Linked DNA regions of Homo sapiens: all the other regions are linked to region 3. The links are contacts of gene promoters, found by promoter capture Hi-C in human tissues and cell types (Jung and others, 2019). All regions are on one chromosome and are shown on one strand. Each heading gives the region's core, a stretch centred on a gene start or on the middle of the fragment in contact. The rest is flanking DNA. Distances are from core to core; before and after follow the strand shown. Region 1 overlaps RNF213 (ring finger protein 213). Region 2 overlaps RNF213 (ring finger protein 213). Region 3 holds the start of CARD14 (caspase recruitment domain family member 14). Region 4 overlaps SLC26A11 (solute carrier family 26 member 11).

What was found. The method cuts DNA at HindIII sites, captures the fragments that hold promoters and counts their contacts. A contact is called where the count stands out against the background at its distance.
Region 1: a fragment that was not itself captured here is called in contact with the fragment with the promoter of CARD14 in region 3 in 2 of the 25 tissues and cell types used here (lymphoblastoid cells and spleen).
Region 2: a fragment that was not itself captured here is called in contact with the fragment with the promoter of CARD14 in region 3 in 3 of the 25 tissues and cell types used here (lymphoblastoid cells, mesenchymal stem cells and spleen).
Region 4: a contact is called between a fragment that was not itself captured here and the fragment with the promoter of CARD14 in region 3, in 3 of the 25 tissues and cell types used here (lymphoblastoid cells, spleen and stomach).

What each region holds. Positions count from the first base shown.
Region 1 is chr17:80,269,888-80,273,069 of GRCh38, forward strand. The region is part of intron 2 of RNF213 (ring finger protein 213); the gene reads left to right. Among named protein-coding and RNA genes, the nearest start is that of RNF213, 11 kb to the left of the region's middle. RefSeq lists a silencer at 1,212-1,261. The HindIII fragment of the contact is 4,608 bases long and covers 1-3,182 here.
Region 2 is chr17:80,294,668-80,297,884 of GRCh38, forward strand. RNF213 (ring finger protein 213) reads left to right here. Exons shown (of 68, transcript NM_001256071.3): 9 at 53-336; 10 at 890-1,146. Among named protein-coding and RNA genes, the nearest start is that of RNF213, 35 kb to the left of the region's middle. The HindIII fragment of the contact is 5,200 bases long and covers 1-3,217 here.
Region 3 is chr17:80,168,140-80,171,332 of GRCh38, forward strand. It overlaps CARD14 (caspase recruitment domain family member 14), which reads left to right and starts at 1,891. Exons shown (of 24, transcript NM_001366385.1): 1 at 1,891-1,917. The HindIII fragment of the contact is 21,960 bases long and covers 1-3,193 here.
Region 4 is chr17:80,244,616-80,247,983 of GRCh38, forward strand. SLC26A11 (solute carrier family 26 member 11) reads left to right here. Exons shown (of 18, transcript NM_001166347.2): 11 at 581-641; 12 at 1,539-1,594; 13 at 1,894-2,034. Among named protein-coding and RNA genes, the nearest start is that of RNF213, 15 kb to the right of the region's middle. The HindIII fragment of the contact is 7,646 bases long and covers 1-3,368 here.

The sequences.
Region 1 (3,182 bases), core at 654-3,153, 100 kb after region 3:
TTAGGAAGTGCTAGTTAAGTATGTCTCTTATTTCTGAATCCAGCTACTTACTTTTATGACAATAAAAATGTAAATGCTGGTTGGCAAATGACCCACATGTTACAGGAGGACATAAAATAGCACGAAGTTTCCTCACCCTGGGCCAGGACTGTCACATTCCCCAGAGCAACACTGTAAACTGGTGTGTCCTCTTCTAGACATCTCCTCTGCGTGAATGTGTGCGCACACACACACACGTTAATGTGAGTGGCAGCTCGTGCCCTGCGCATGCCTTGCTACTTTCATGTACAGTGGCTGAGGCCTCTAGTGGAGGACGGACCTCAGCAGCCTCCCTGGCTCTGCCACCCAGCAGGGCCTGACTCAGCAACAGGCCTATCCTGGGCACTTCCCTTGTCCTGCTGTTTTGCCGTGACATAGGCTGCTAGGCTGCATGCTTGCACGGAGACCTTGCCCTCTGAGCCAGGCTGGCCGTCTGGAGGACAGATTCCCAGCCACTAGCCTGCTGGCTTCAGGCTGGCACATTTACAATGCAAATCTCTTCAAATCCCCTGCACAAAGCTTCTCTGGCCACTCACTGGCCGCGTCTCTGTGCTCCCTGCCTTCTAGATTTCTATTCAGATTCTCTCCAGCGTTCAGAATGATGGATCTTGTCAATCTGTGCCGGTCGTTGGGTGGAAATGGCACTGCAGGGCCTCCGTTCTGATTTCCTTCATCAGTAGGCATGGCAGGCATCTCTTTGGAAGTTAAGAGACCACATGTATGTGTATTTCCTTGAGCGGCCTGTCTGTCTTTAGGGAAGCTCGTTTTGCTTTGGTTGGTCCTTATGATTGTTGGGACTGTTTATACTGGGAACAGCCTGAAACCCAGCTCTCCTAGGCTTGCTCAGCAAGAGAAACGTGCTGGGTCACCGTTGCCCAAGTCCAGGCTTGAGGGGTTCAAGTGTACTAGGGCTTTGCTCCATTTCTCTGATCCTGACAGCTCTGCCCTTCTCCACTGCCAGCTTTGTCTGCAGGTGGAGGAGAACAGACAGTGGTTTCCCAGCACCACCTCATGGTCTTTCCAGGATGCACTGAGTGGCAGAAACCCCAGTAAGGGTCCAGAAGTATGGATGCTTCCATACTTCTTGCTGGTTGGCCCTTCCCTTAGTCAATCACTAGTGCCAGGGTAAATATCGGCCCTGATTGGATTAGGCTAGTCAGGGCCCGCCCCTGGTGGGAGGGTAGGTTGGTGGGAGGGTAGGTTGGTGGGAGGGGCAGGCTCAGAATCCCTGGTTGTAGGTGAAACAGCAGCTCTCGAAGGATGGGGCCTTGGGTCGCCTGTTGCAGATCTTTCTCCAGCTCTTACTTTCTGGCTGTGATGTTTCATGTGTGTCTTATGTATGTAGACGTTTAGAGGATTTGTTATCAATTTTGAGTCCTGCTAAGGAACTTCACGAATTCTTGAGCTCTTGGCTACGCCAACACTGAGTACTCAAAGGGAAAAAGGTCTGCGTGGTCCCTGCCCTCCAGATCTCAGAGGAGGAGAGGGCAGTGACGAAACCAGGTGCTGGAAACGGGCGTGGGGATGAAGTGTCCAGACAGGGGCGCAGCTGGGACTGGCTTGGGGCCTTGGAGAAGGGTCTGTGGGGATCAGGCAGAGGGAAGGTTCTGTACAGAAAAGCAGGCTTGGCCTGGCACCATCTGGAGTGTGTGTCAGGGAGAGGTGGGGTCGTCCAGACCCAGGATTGAAAACAGGGACTCCTTGAAGGGTGTTTTCGTCCATTTTCTGTTGCCATAAGAGTACCCGAGCCTGGGTAATTGAAAAAGAAAAGGCCGGGTGTGGTGGCTCAAGCCTGTAATCCCAGCACTTTGGGAGGCCGAGGTGGGCGGATCACGAGGTCAGGAGTTCAAGACCAGCCTGACCAACATGGTGAAACCCCGTCTCTACTAAAAATACAAAAAAAATTAGCTGGGTGTGGTGGCGCATGCCTGTAATCCCAGCTACTCCAGAGGCTGAGGCAGGAGAATCACTTGAACCCAGGAGGTGGAGGTTGCAGTGAGCCGAGATTGCACCACTGCACTCCAGCCTGGGTGACAGAGCGAGACTCCGTCTCAAAAAAGAAGAAAAAAGAAAAGAGGCCGGGTGGGGTGGCTCACACCTGTAATCCCAGCACTTTGAGAGGGCAAGACGGGTGGATCATGAGGTCAGGAGTTCAAGACCATCCTGGCCAAGATGCTGAAACCCCTGTCTCTACTAAAAACACAAAAATTAGCCGGGTGTGGTGGCATGCACCTGTAATCCCAGCTACTTGGGAGGCCGAGGCAGGAGAATTGCTTGAACCTGGGAGGCAGAGGTTGCAGTGAGCCAAGATTGTGCCTCTGCACTCCAGCCTGGGCGACAGAGCAAGACTCTGTCTCAAAAAAAATAATAAAATAAAATAAAAAAAGAAAAAGAAAAAAGAGGTTTATTTAGCTCACAGTTCTGCAGACTGAGAAGTTCAGGGCCTGGCCCTGATGTCTGGTGAGGGCTTTTGTGCCACATGGCAGAGTAGGCCGACGGGGATGCTGACAGCTGTGAAAGACTAAGCCTGATGGGACATCTTGACTTCATAACAACCCACCTGGCGGGTGCTAATCCATTCCCGAGGGGAGTAAACAAGCCTCTCAAGAGTAAACCCATGACCGCAAACGGCACCAAGCCATTCGTGAGGGATTTGCCCTCACGACCCACAGACCTCCCCGCAGCCCTGCCTCCCAGCACTGGCATACTGGGGATCAACATGAGTTTTGGTGGGGATGGACAAAGTGCGTCCACACCACAATGAAGGCTAGAGTGAGTGTGGGGCTGGCAGAGTGGGTGCTCCATGCTGTCTGCATGGCAGCTCTGCATGGGTGAGAATCTGGAGGCAGAGCAGCTGGGCGGGCAGATGCCTTAGTGCCAGGACAAGGGAAGCAGTTTGAGACCCCTGGGCCGCCACTGGGAGAATGCCCACCCTGGGGAAGACAGGAGGAATGTCTACAGTAGGGGAGGAAAGCGTAACAGGCTCTGTTTTAGAGGTGCCCGAGGTGCGCTGACATCCTAGTACAGAGTCAGGTGAATCCACTCGTGGACATTGGGAGGAAGAGGCTGGATGCTAGGACGGCACAGTCTTTCTGTCTGATTCACCCCTTGTTGTGCTGAAACTGGGGTCCCTGGTTCCCTCC
Region 2 (3,217 bases), core at 324-2,823, 130 kb after region 3:
TCCAGGGTTTTGATGGTCTTAGGTAGGCTCTTGTTCCTTCTGTCCCTCTTAGACTGGCATCAGTACTATGACATAGTTTATATGAAGCCTCATGGGAGACTCCAGAAAGTCATGAACCACATCACAGACGGGCCGAGGAAGGACCTGGTGAAGGGGAAGCAGATTGCCGCTGCGCTCATGCTGGACAGCACCTTCAGCATCCTGCAGACCTGGGACACCATCAACCTGAACAGCTTCTTCACCCAGTTCGAGCAGTTTTGCTTTGTCCTGCAACAGCCTATGATTTATGAAGGACAGGCACAGCTGTGGACCGATTTGCAGTACAGGGAGAAAGAGGTATCAGGCTTGCCACCAGCTGCTCTACCTGCTGGGCAGGAGCCACACCTGACCTGCTAGTGGCCGGATGACCCCTTGACTCTGTGGGCCAGGTTGCAAATGGGAATGTGTAGAACTTTCCAGCCTTTTCTCCTACCACTGTCTCTTGGGATTTCTCTGCCCTCCCCCATTTTCCTCCTTTTACTGGTTGTAATCTCAGCCCCACCCCAGCACCAGTCCTGAGTCCTCCCCTGGCCTTGGAGGGAGAGTGGAAGGAACGGGGCACCCTCTGTCACTGCACCTTTACCCACACTGCGGTGCAGCCTGGGTGGGTTTCAGGCCGGCCTGGAGCTGTTTCTGAGCTGAAGCTGAGCCCTGATGAGCCTCAGGGGCCCTGCCTGAGCCCTCATGCCAGGGTCTTGGCTGCACTGCAGCTCCTCCTGTGGCTCTCACAGGTGTGGTGGTGGGGCACGGATGGGGTCTGCTGCCCTAGCTGTGGTGCTGGGGCAGCTCTGGACACTGCCGGTGAATTCAAGTCCATGGTTCATGCATCTTCCTCTTCTCCCACCATCAGGTGAAGAGATACCTGTGGCAACATCTGAAAAAACACGTGGTACCATTGCCGGACGGAAAAAGCACGGACTTTTTGCCTGTGGACTGCCCAGTGAGGAGTAAACTGAAAACAGGCCTGATTGTCCTTTTTGTAGTGGAAAAAATTGAGCTTTTATTAGAAGGCAGCCTGGACTGGTTGTGTCACCTCCTAACCTCAGATGCCAGCTCACCAGATGAGTTTCACCGTGACCTAAGCCACATCCTTGGGATACCTCAGAGGTATTATTATTTTTTGTCAAAATGTTTTTTATAGCTATTATAATGATTTTCTCTGATTGCAAAAATAAGTGCTTGACTAGAGTGACTGAAAGCACACAGGCAAGAAATAAAACCACCCGTGATTTTACCACTCACTGTGGTCATGTCAGTAGTTTTTCCTAGCATCTGTCTTATTTTTATTATATTCTGTCCTCTGTTGAATTCCCTGCCTTTTGTTTTCCCCCCAGACGGCGTCTCACTCTGTGGCCCAGGCTGGAGTACAGTGGCGCAATCTTGGCTCACTGCAGCCTCCACCTCCCAGGTTTAGGCAATTCTCCTGCTTCAGCCTCCTTAGTAGCAGGGACTACAGGTGCACACTACCACACATGGCTAATTTTTGTATTTTTAGTAGAGAAGGGTTTTCACCATTTTGGCCAGGCTGGTTTCGAACTCCTGACCTCAAGTGATCCACCCACCTCGGCCTCCCAAAGTGCTAGGATTGTAGGCGTGAGCCACCGTGCTGGGTCTGAATACCCTGCTTTTTGAAGCTTCGTGTGGTATCATGAGCAGCCTCTGTGTGCGCGTGTTTAGGAGGTTGTGGCGTGACGCCAGCCTGAACTCATCCCCTCAAGGACATCTGCAGAAGCAGCGTGAATGTTCTCCCCATGCCCCTGCCTGTGCCGTGTCTAGTTCAGGAAACACAGTGTGACTGTCCTGGGCCTGAAATGTTCAGTGGTGAGAAGGCGATGGCCTTTGACTTGGTACCTGCTCAGACCCCACTGAGCTCTGCACTCTCTCTGCGTGTGTTGATTTGAACGTGAGAATGACATTAGGTAGCCTTTCCTGACCAGCATGTCTTATCACGACATCTGCCTCTCAGTTTTACACATTTATTTATTTGTTGTTTTGAGACAGTGTCTTACTCTGTTCCCCCAGTCTGGAGTGCAGTGGAGCAATCAGCTCACTGCAGCTTCAGCCTCACAGACTCAGGTGGTTCTCCCACCTCAGCCTCCTGAGTAGCTGGGACTGCAGATACACACCACCACTTCCAGCTAATTTTTGTATTTATTGTAGAGACGGGGTTTCACCATGTTGCCACGGTGGTCTTGAGCTCCTGACCTTGTGATCCGCCTGCCTCGACCTCCCAAAGTGCTGGGATTATAGACATGAGCCACTGTGCCTGGCCTGGTTTTACAAATAAAAAACAACCAAATAAACGCCGCACATTTTGACAAAGAGGAGGAGTGGAGGCAAAGGCAATGTACAGAGTTAGTGCCGGGGCTTAAAGTATGAGGAATCATTAATATCTTTTGACTGTAGGAGATTCACCATGTATTGTTTATAGGCTCAACCCTTACGTTTAAAAAGTTGTTTTGGGGCCGGGCACGGTGGCTCACGCCTGTAATCCCAGCACTTTGGGAGGTCGAGGCAGGCGGATCACAAGGTCAGGAGTTCGAGACCAGCCTGACCAACATGGTGAAACACTGTCTCTACTAAAAATACAAAATTTAGCCGGGCGTGGTGGTGCATGCCTGTAATCCCAGCTACTCAGGAGGCTGAGGCAGGAGAATCACGTGAACCCAGGAGGCGGAGGTTGCAGTGAGCCGAGATTGTGCCACTGCACTCCAGCCTGGGCGACACAGTGAGACTTCATCTCAAAAAAAAAAAAAAGTTGTTTTGGCCGGGCATTATGGCTCACACCTGTAATCCCAGTGCTTTGGGAGGCTGAGGCAGGAGGGATTGCTTGAGCCAGGAGTTCAGGATCAGTCTGGGAAACAAAAATTAAAATAAAAAATAGAGCCGGCCAACACAGTGAAACCCTGTCTCTACAAAAAATACAAAAAACTAGCCAGGCATGGTGGCGGGCACCTGTAGTCCCAGCTACTCGGGAGGCTGAGGCAGGAGAATGGCGTGAACCCGAGAGGCAGAGCTTGCAGTGAGCCAAGATCGTGCCACTGCGCTCCAGCCTGGGCAACAGAGTGAGACTCCGTCTCAAAAAAAAAAAAAAAAAAATGTAGCTAGCTGGGTGTGGTGGTGCACCTGTAATTCCAGCACTGGAGAGGCTGAGGCAGGAGGATCCCTTGAGCCCAAG
Region 3 (3,193 bases), core at 641-3,140:
GGTTTGCTACACCTGTCAACCCATCACCTAGGTTTTAAGCCCCACGTGCATTAGCTATTTGTCCTGATGCTCTCCCTCCACTCCCCCTACCATAGGCCCCAGTGTGTGTTGTTCCCCTCCCTGTGTCCATGTGTTCTCATTGTTCAGCTCCCACTTATGAGTGAGAACATGCAGTGTTTGGGTTTCTGTTCCCATGTTAGTTTGCTGAGAATGATGGCTTCCAGCTTCATCCATGTCTCTGCAAAGGCCCTTCATTCCTTTCTATGGCTGCACCTTGACTATTTCTATGGCTATTTCTGTTCTTAGGGAGGCTCCTCCCATCTCCAGTGCATTCTTCTGCCCCCCTCTTTTACTGGGAATGGCGGCATTTCTTTGCGTTTTCTGTAACTAGAATTCTCTGTGTGGCTGGCACAGTGTGATGAGCTGGCAAGCTTCCCCACTGTGGGGGAGGGCTTATCATGAGGTCTGCTGGAGGAAACTAAGAGAGCTGAGCCTTAGGGGCTTAAATGAACTGCCTGAGGGGAAGCTGACACCCAGTGGGGCTGTAACCCTGGTTGGAGAGTTCATGTCTGCACCTGGCCTCGGCCTGCGTTCTCACTTGCTCTGCCCAACTGGCTGTGCCTTCAGCCGGCTCATCACCAGGAGATTTGGGTTGGAGCTACTGCTCAGCCACCATGAGCTACATGACCTTGAAGGCCGATCTTTGATTGTCCGCAGGATAATCCTGAAGGTTCTCAGGCCATGGACCTGTGAATTTCCCTTCTTTCAGTGTCTGCATCATTGGGAACCAAGCCCCTAACCAATGTTTATTCATTCGCTCAACCAATATTTGTGGAATATCACAGCCCTAGGGGTGGGGACACAGCAGGGAACAAGAAAGACAAGAATTATTGTCCTCAGTAGGTTACTGTGGAGTGGGGAGGCTGGCAGGAAGCCACGTAACTAGAATACACGTTAGGTCAAGGCAGTATTCCCACAGAGAAGATGGAACAGGGAAGGGGAGTGAAGGCCAGGATGGGAGGTCTACGGACTTAAGTAGGATGATCTGGGAAGTAGCATTTGAGTAGAGTCTGGAAGGAGGGATGGGAAAGAGTGTTCCAGGCAGTGGGAACAGCAGGTGCAAAGGCCCTGGGGCAGAAGTGTGCCTGGACTGTCAAGACTGTTGGGCTGTGTGTCTGGAGCAGGTAAAAGAGAGATAAGGTCAGCAAGGACCTGATAAGCAGAGCCTCATGGTCACGCTGAGGACTCCAGGACCTGTACACCGAAGGGAATGACAGGAGCTGACTCATGCCCTAGCAGGACTTCTCTGTCTGCTGTGTTGAGCGCTGGTGATGGGGGCGTGGGAAGAAGTTAGGAGCCATTACAGAGGTCCCGGTGGGCCATGATCAGGACACCACAATGCAGGTGGTGAGAATGGATCGGATTCTAGACATATCTCAAGGTGGAGGACCAAGACTTTCATCTAAATCTAAACAATAGTTATGAAATGTTAACTTGAGATGGATCTATTGGAATTATTCAGATACTTCCAATAATGGATCATGAGAACCAAGAAAGGCCCTAGAATTTATCCTGATCTTCGTAGGATTTTCCCAAGGGTAGAAATGATGATGAACTGGGTGACCGTTCACAAAGGAGAGAGGATTCCCAGCCCCCAAGCCTGAAGCCTTCCCCTCAATCACCCTCAATCACCATCTTCTGTGGGTCGACCAGATGCACGGACTGTTCTCAGCCATCCCTGTGGTTCTTACGGCAATGTCTAGCTGTGGGACTGCACTGGTGCTTCGATGGCTCATAGAAGCCCCATATAAGGCACTGCTCCTGTGGGATGTGCCTGTCAAACCTGCTTGTCCACTGCCGTTCAGTTCAGCCAGAGATTGGGCCACATTCAGTCCTCGCTTCCCTGGGAGGGGGAAGGTAAGTGCGCGCAGTCCATCCGGCGAAGAGCAGGTCAGCCTACGGAGGGCTCAGCCTACGGAGGGGCTCAGCCGACACAGGTCTGATGGGGCCCGAGAGTGGTCCCAGGGGAGTGGGAGGGGCCGGCATCTTCCTCATCAGGAGTGGAGGAGCTGCCTTGTATGTGGACTAGAGAACAGAAAACGGCTTGTCTGTGTTGCTGGGTCAATCACTGGAACATTCTCTGAATGCTGAGTTCTGCCTTAAAACAGCATGGGTCATGCTAGATGAAAGGGATCTCTGTTTTATACTCTCATCTCTTCGCTATTGCCGTGGGATGAAAGACAGCAGAAGGAAGGTGTCTAAGTTCAGAACAAAGTGAGCAAGACCAGCTGGCTGCTGTTGGTAGCAGAGGCACAGCCAGCCTGTCATGGCACTGGGGGGCCGAGGTGAGCTGTGCCCCCTCCTCCTGGGCTTGTGACCCTCTGCCCCCCATGGGGTATGTACATGTGTGTGTGTGCGTGTGCGTGTGTGTATGTGTACATGCCTTCTTCCCTACTTCACTGGCAAGGGAAGAGACTGACACTTGGGTTAGGAGAAGGATGTTGACCTGGGAGGGGTCAAATAAGGAGAACCCACATCTTAGATGCTCAGGATTTTATGATCTTAGGCTCTTCTAGAATTGCTGTACAGTTAGATTCAGAGTTTGGAATTAGAGATCTCTGGGCCCTCCCCTCCCCTCCCGTCCCCTCCCCTCCCGTCCCCTCCCCTCCTCTCCCCTCCCCTCCTCTCCCCTCTCCTCCCCTCCCCTCTTCTCTCCTTTTTCAGAAGTCTCCCTCTGTCGCCCAGGCTAGAGTTGCAGTGGCACAATCTCGGCTCACTGCAATTTCTGCCTCCTGGGTTCAGGTGATTCTCCTGCCTCAGTCTCCCAAGTAGCTGGGACTATAGGTGCACGCCACCACACCTGGTTAATTTTTTTATTTTTAGTAGAGACAGGGTTTTGTCACGTTGGCTAGGCTGGTCTCAAACTCCTGACTTCAGGTAATCCGCCCATCTTGGTCTCCCAAAGTGCTGGGATTACGGGCGTGAGCCACGGCTCCTGGCGCCTTCCCATTCACCTTCCCCTTCCCCTCCCCTTCCTCCCTCCCTCCCTCCCTCCCTCCCTCCCTCCCTTCCTTCCTTCCTTCCTTCCTTCCTTCCTTCCTTCCTTCTCTCTCTCCTTCCCTTCCTTCCTCTCTCTTTCTTTTCTTCTTTTCTTTCTTTCTTTCTCTCTCTCTCTCTTTCTTTCTTTTCCTTT
Region 4 (3,368 bases), core at 867-3,366, 77 kb after region 3:
TGGGTCACCTGAGGTCAGGCATTTGAGACCAGCCTGGCCAGCATGGCAAAACCCTGTCTCTACTAAAAATAGAAAAATTAACTGGGTGTGGTGGCACATGCCTGTAGTCCCAGCACTTTGGGAGGTCGAAGCGGGTGGATCACTGAGGTCAGGAGTTTGAGACCAGCCTGGCCAACATGGCAAAACTCTGTCTGTACTAAAAATACAGAAATTAGCCAGGCGTGGTAGTGTGTGCCTGTAATCCCAGCTACTCAGGAGGCTGAGGCAGGAGAATCGCTTGAACTGGGAGGCGGAGGCTGCAGTGAGCTGAGATCGCGCCACTGCATTCCAGCCTGGGCAACAAAGCCAGACTCTGTCTCAAAAAAAAAAAAAAAAAAAAAAAGGCTAGGCTTTACGTCTGCAAGAATGTGGCCTGTTTTCTTCCTTCCCTGAAGGAGTGCGTAGGCCCAGGCCCCCAGGATGATTCTCCCGAGCCCTGCCTTCCTGCCTCCCTTCTGGGTTTTTGTCCCCCTCCCCATCTCCTTTCCCTCCATCCTGTGTGCCTTCCCTCCACGATCAGCCTGTCTTGCCTCCTCCCCAGGTCTCACCAACATGTTGGGCTCCCTCGTCTCCTCCTACCCGGTCACAGGCAGCTTTGGACGGTGAGTGACCTGTCCGCCTCTTCTGTTTGCCCACGTTGGACGCCCTAACGTTGTTACGCTGACAAGGAGTCTGCCTGCCCTGACCCCGGCGCCCCGTCCTCCACTGTGAACGCTCCGTGGAGAGGCAGGGCTGGGGGTCACCCACTGTCCTCCAGGGTGTTCTCTGTTTCTTTATTCTCATAGATCGTCCTGCAGTTTCATACTAGAAAGTTCCACTGGGCATTGTGGTACACCCTTGTTATCCCATTTACTCTGGAGGCGGAAGCAGGAGAATCGCTTGAGCCCAGCAGGATGAGGCTGCAGTGAGTTGTGACCGCACCGCTGCACTCCAGCCTGGGCAACAGAGCGAGACCCTGTCTCTAAAATAAATACTAGAAAGTTCCCAGCACGCCAAAGCCCTCCTAGCTCCTGGTGCCAGAGTCAATTCCTGAAAGGACGTGGAGATAGGAAGGGCCTCGGCTCTGTCCTGAAGCAGCCGGGCATGAAGCTTAGCCCAGATGCCCTACGGCCCCTCCTCAGTCAGGACAACAGGATGGAGGTGACCTGTGGCTTAAAGGAGAGAAGGAGGCGTCACCTGGCACTGCCCAGTCCCCCAGCTGGTGACCCTTGCCCTGCTGGGTATGGGGGCCCCACCTGGATGGGGGCAGGAGACAGAGTCGGCAGGAACCTGAAAGGACACGTGCTTCCTGAGCTTCTTCCTATAGTCAGGGTGGCCCAAGCGCGGCTGTCTGTGACTGCACCCTAAGTCTCTTTGCCTCGGTCCCCTTGCAGTCCCCGCCTGCTTCCCAAGCCGTGCTGGGAGCTGACGTCCCCTCGGAAGATCAGCCACAGGAGTGTGGACTGAGGTCTCCCTTTTCCCGGCCCCTGGTGACTGACGGTCTCTGTGTTGCCTTCCAGGACAGCCGTGAACGCTCAGTCGGGGGTGTGCACCCCGGCGGGGGGCCTGGTGACGGGTAAGGCCCCCCATCTTCCCCTTGTGCCCGCAGCCCTGAGAGTGGGAGAAAGGGAGGAGGGGGCCCACAGAGACGTCCCTTTGGCTCATGGGCCGTGCGCCCCGGGACTGCACAGGGACTTGGGGGGCCACACAGGAGTAGGGGGACCACAGGAGACTGAGCAGGGGCTGGGGGCCTTGGCAGTCGTCGCCCTACCCCCACCCCTGTCCCCAGTGGGCTCTGCTGAACAAGAGGCTGCTACGCTGCGTGCTGGGGGGACCCTGCACTCCCGAGGTCACCTGTGTTCCCGTGCCCCGCAGGAGTGCTGGTGCTGCTGTCTCTGGACTACCTGACCTCACTGTTCTACTACATCCCCAAGTCTGCCCTGGCTGCCGTCATCATCATGGCCGTGGCCCCGCTGTTCGACACCAAGATCTTCAGGACGCTCTGGCGTGTTAAGAGTACGTCCTTGTCCTACAGGGGAGAGCGCTGTGATGCGGTGTCTGAACGCGGAGGGTGTCATTTATGCTACCCCATTTTCCTGCAGCCCCCTCTGTGGGGCTGGGACTGGGAAGTTAGGGCAGTCCCGGAACAGAGAAGTGGATGGCCAGGAGATGGCCCCAGAGATGGTCCCGAGGCTCAGTGGGAAGAGCTGGAGCTCCTTGTCCTGACACCTGGGGTCTTGAGGCGAGCACTGACCCGGGGGAGGGTCCCCTCCTGATCCCCCTGCCCCCATCCCTACCCTCCTTGCCACCCGCCTCCAGCCACCACTCTGCCCGGCCCAGCTGGGGGAGGGACAGGAGACGTCCCTGGTGACCAGCAGGGCCAGCGGAACAGCCTTGCACCCTGGCTCAGAATGGCAGTTCCTTTTTTTTTTTTTATTATTATTTTTATTTTTTTTTATTGATCATTCTTGGGTGTTTCTTGCAGAGGGGGATTTGGCAGGGTCATAGGACAATATGGGGTTGGGGGTAAGGTCACAGATAACAGGATCCCAAGGCAGAGGAATTTTTCTTAGTGCAGAACAAAATGAAAAGTCTCCCATGTCTACTTCTTTCTACACAGACACGGCAACCATCCGATTTCTCAATCTTTTCCCCACCTTTCCCCCCTTTCTATTCCACAAAACCGCCATTGTCATCATGGCGCGTTCTCAATGAGCTGTTGGGTACACCTCCCAGACGGGGTGGTGGCCGGGCAGAGGGGCTCCTCACTTCCCAGTAGGGGCGGCCGGGCAGAGGCGCCCCTCACCTCCCGGACGGGAGCAGTTCCTTTAACTTAACACATTTTGTTTTGTTTGTGGAAGAAGCATGGAGTGGGTTCACCTAGCTTACTTGGCATTTTCTGGTTAGCCCCAGCAAGTTGCCAGGTGAAAGGATGGATAATTTTCTTGCATGCCCGTCGCATGCCAGGGCCTTTCGCGTGCCAGTGCGCTGGGGCTTTAGAACAGCCCTGAAACGTGTTCATGTGCCGGCGTGGAATGGGATGGCCGCTGCTGCTAGAAACCAAGGCTCAGCCAGGGTGGGGCAGGCCTGACCTATGCGTGCGGTGGAATCCCCCACAGGGCTAAGCCCGTGCACTTTGTCCCCAGGGCACCTTCTCCTTGGCCAGGTCTCAAGGGCTCACGTGGTCCCTGCCCCACTCCTCAGGCCAGCTCTGTGCCCTGACAAGCCCCTGCTGCTGCCCTCCCTGAGGTTGGAGGCCAGGGACCGGCCGGCAGGTCTCACCTGCGCTCAGCTCAGATGGGGAGGGCATTTCTTTCTTTCGACTTGAAGCATGGCCTGGTCAGCAGCTG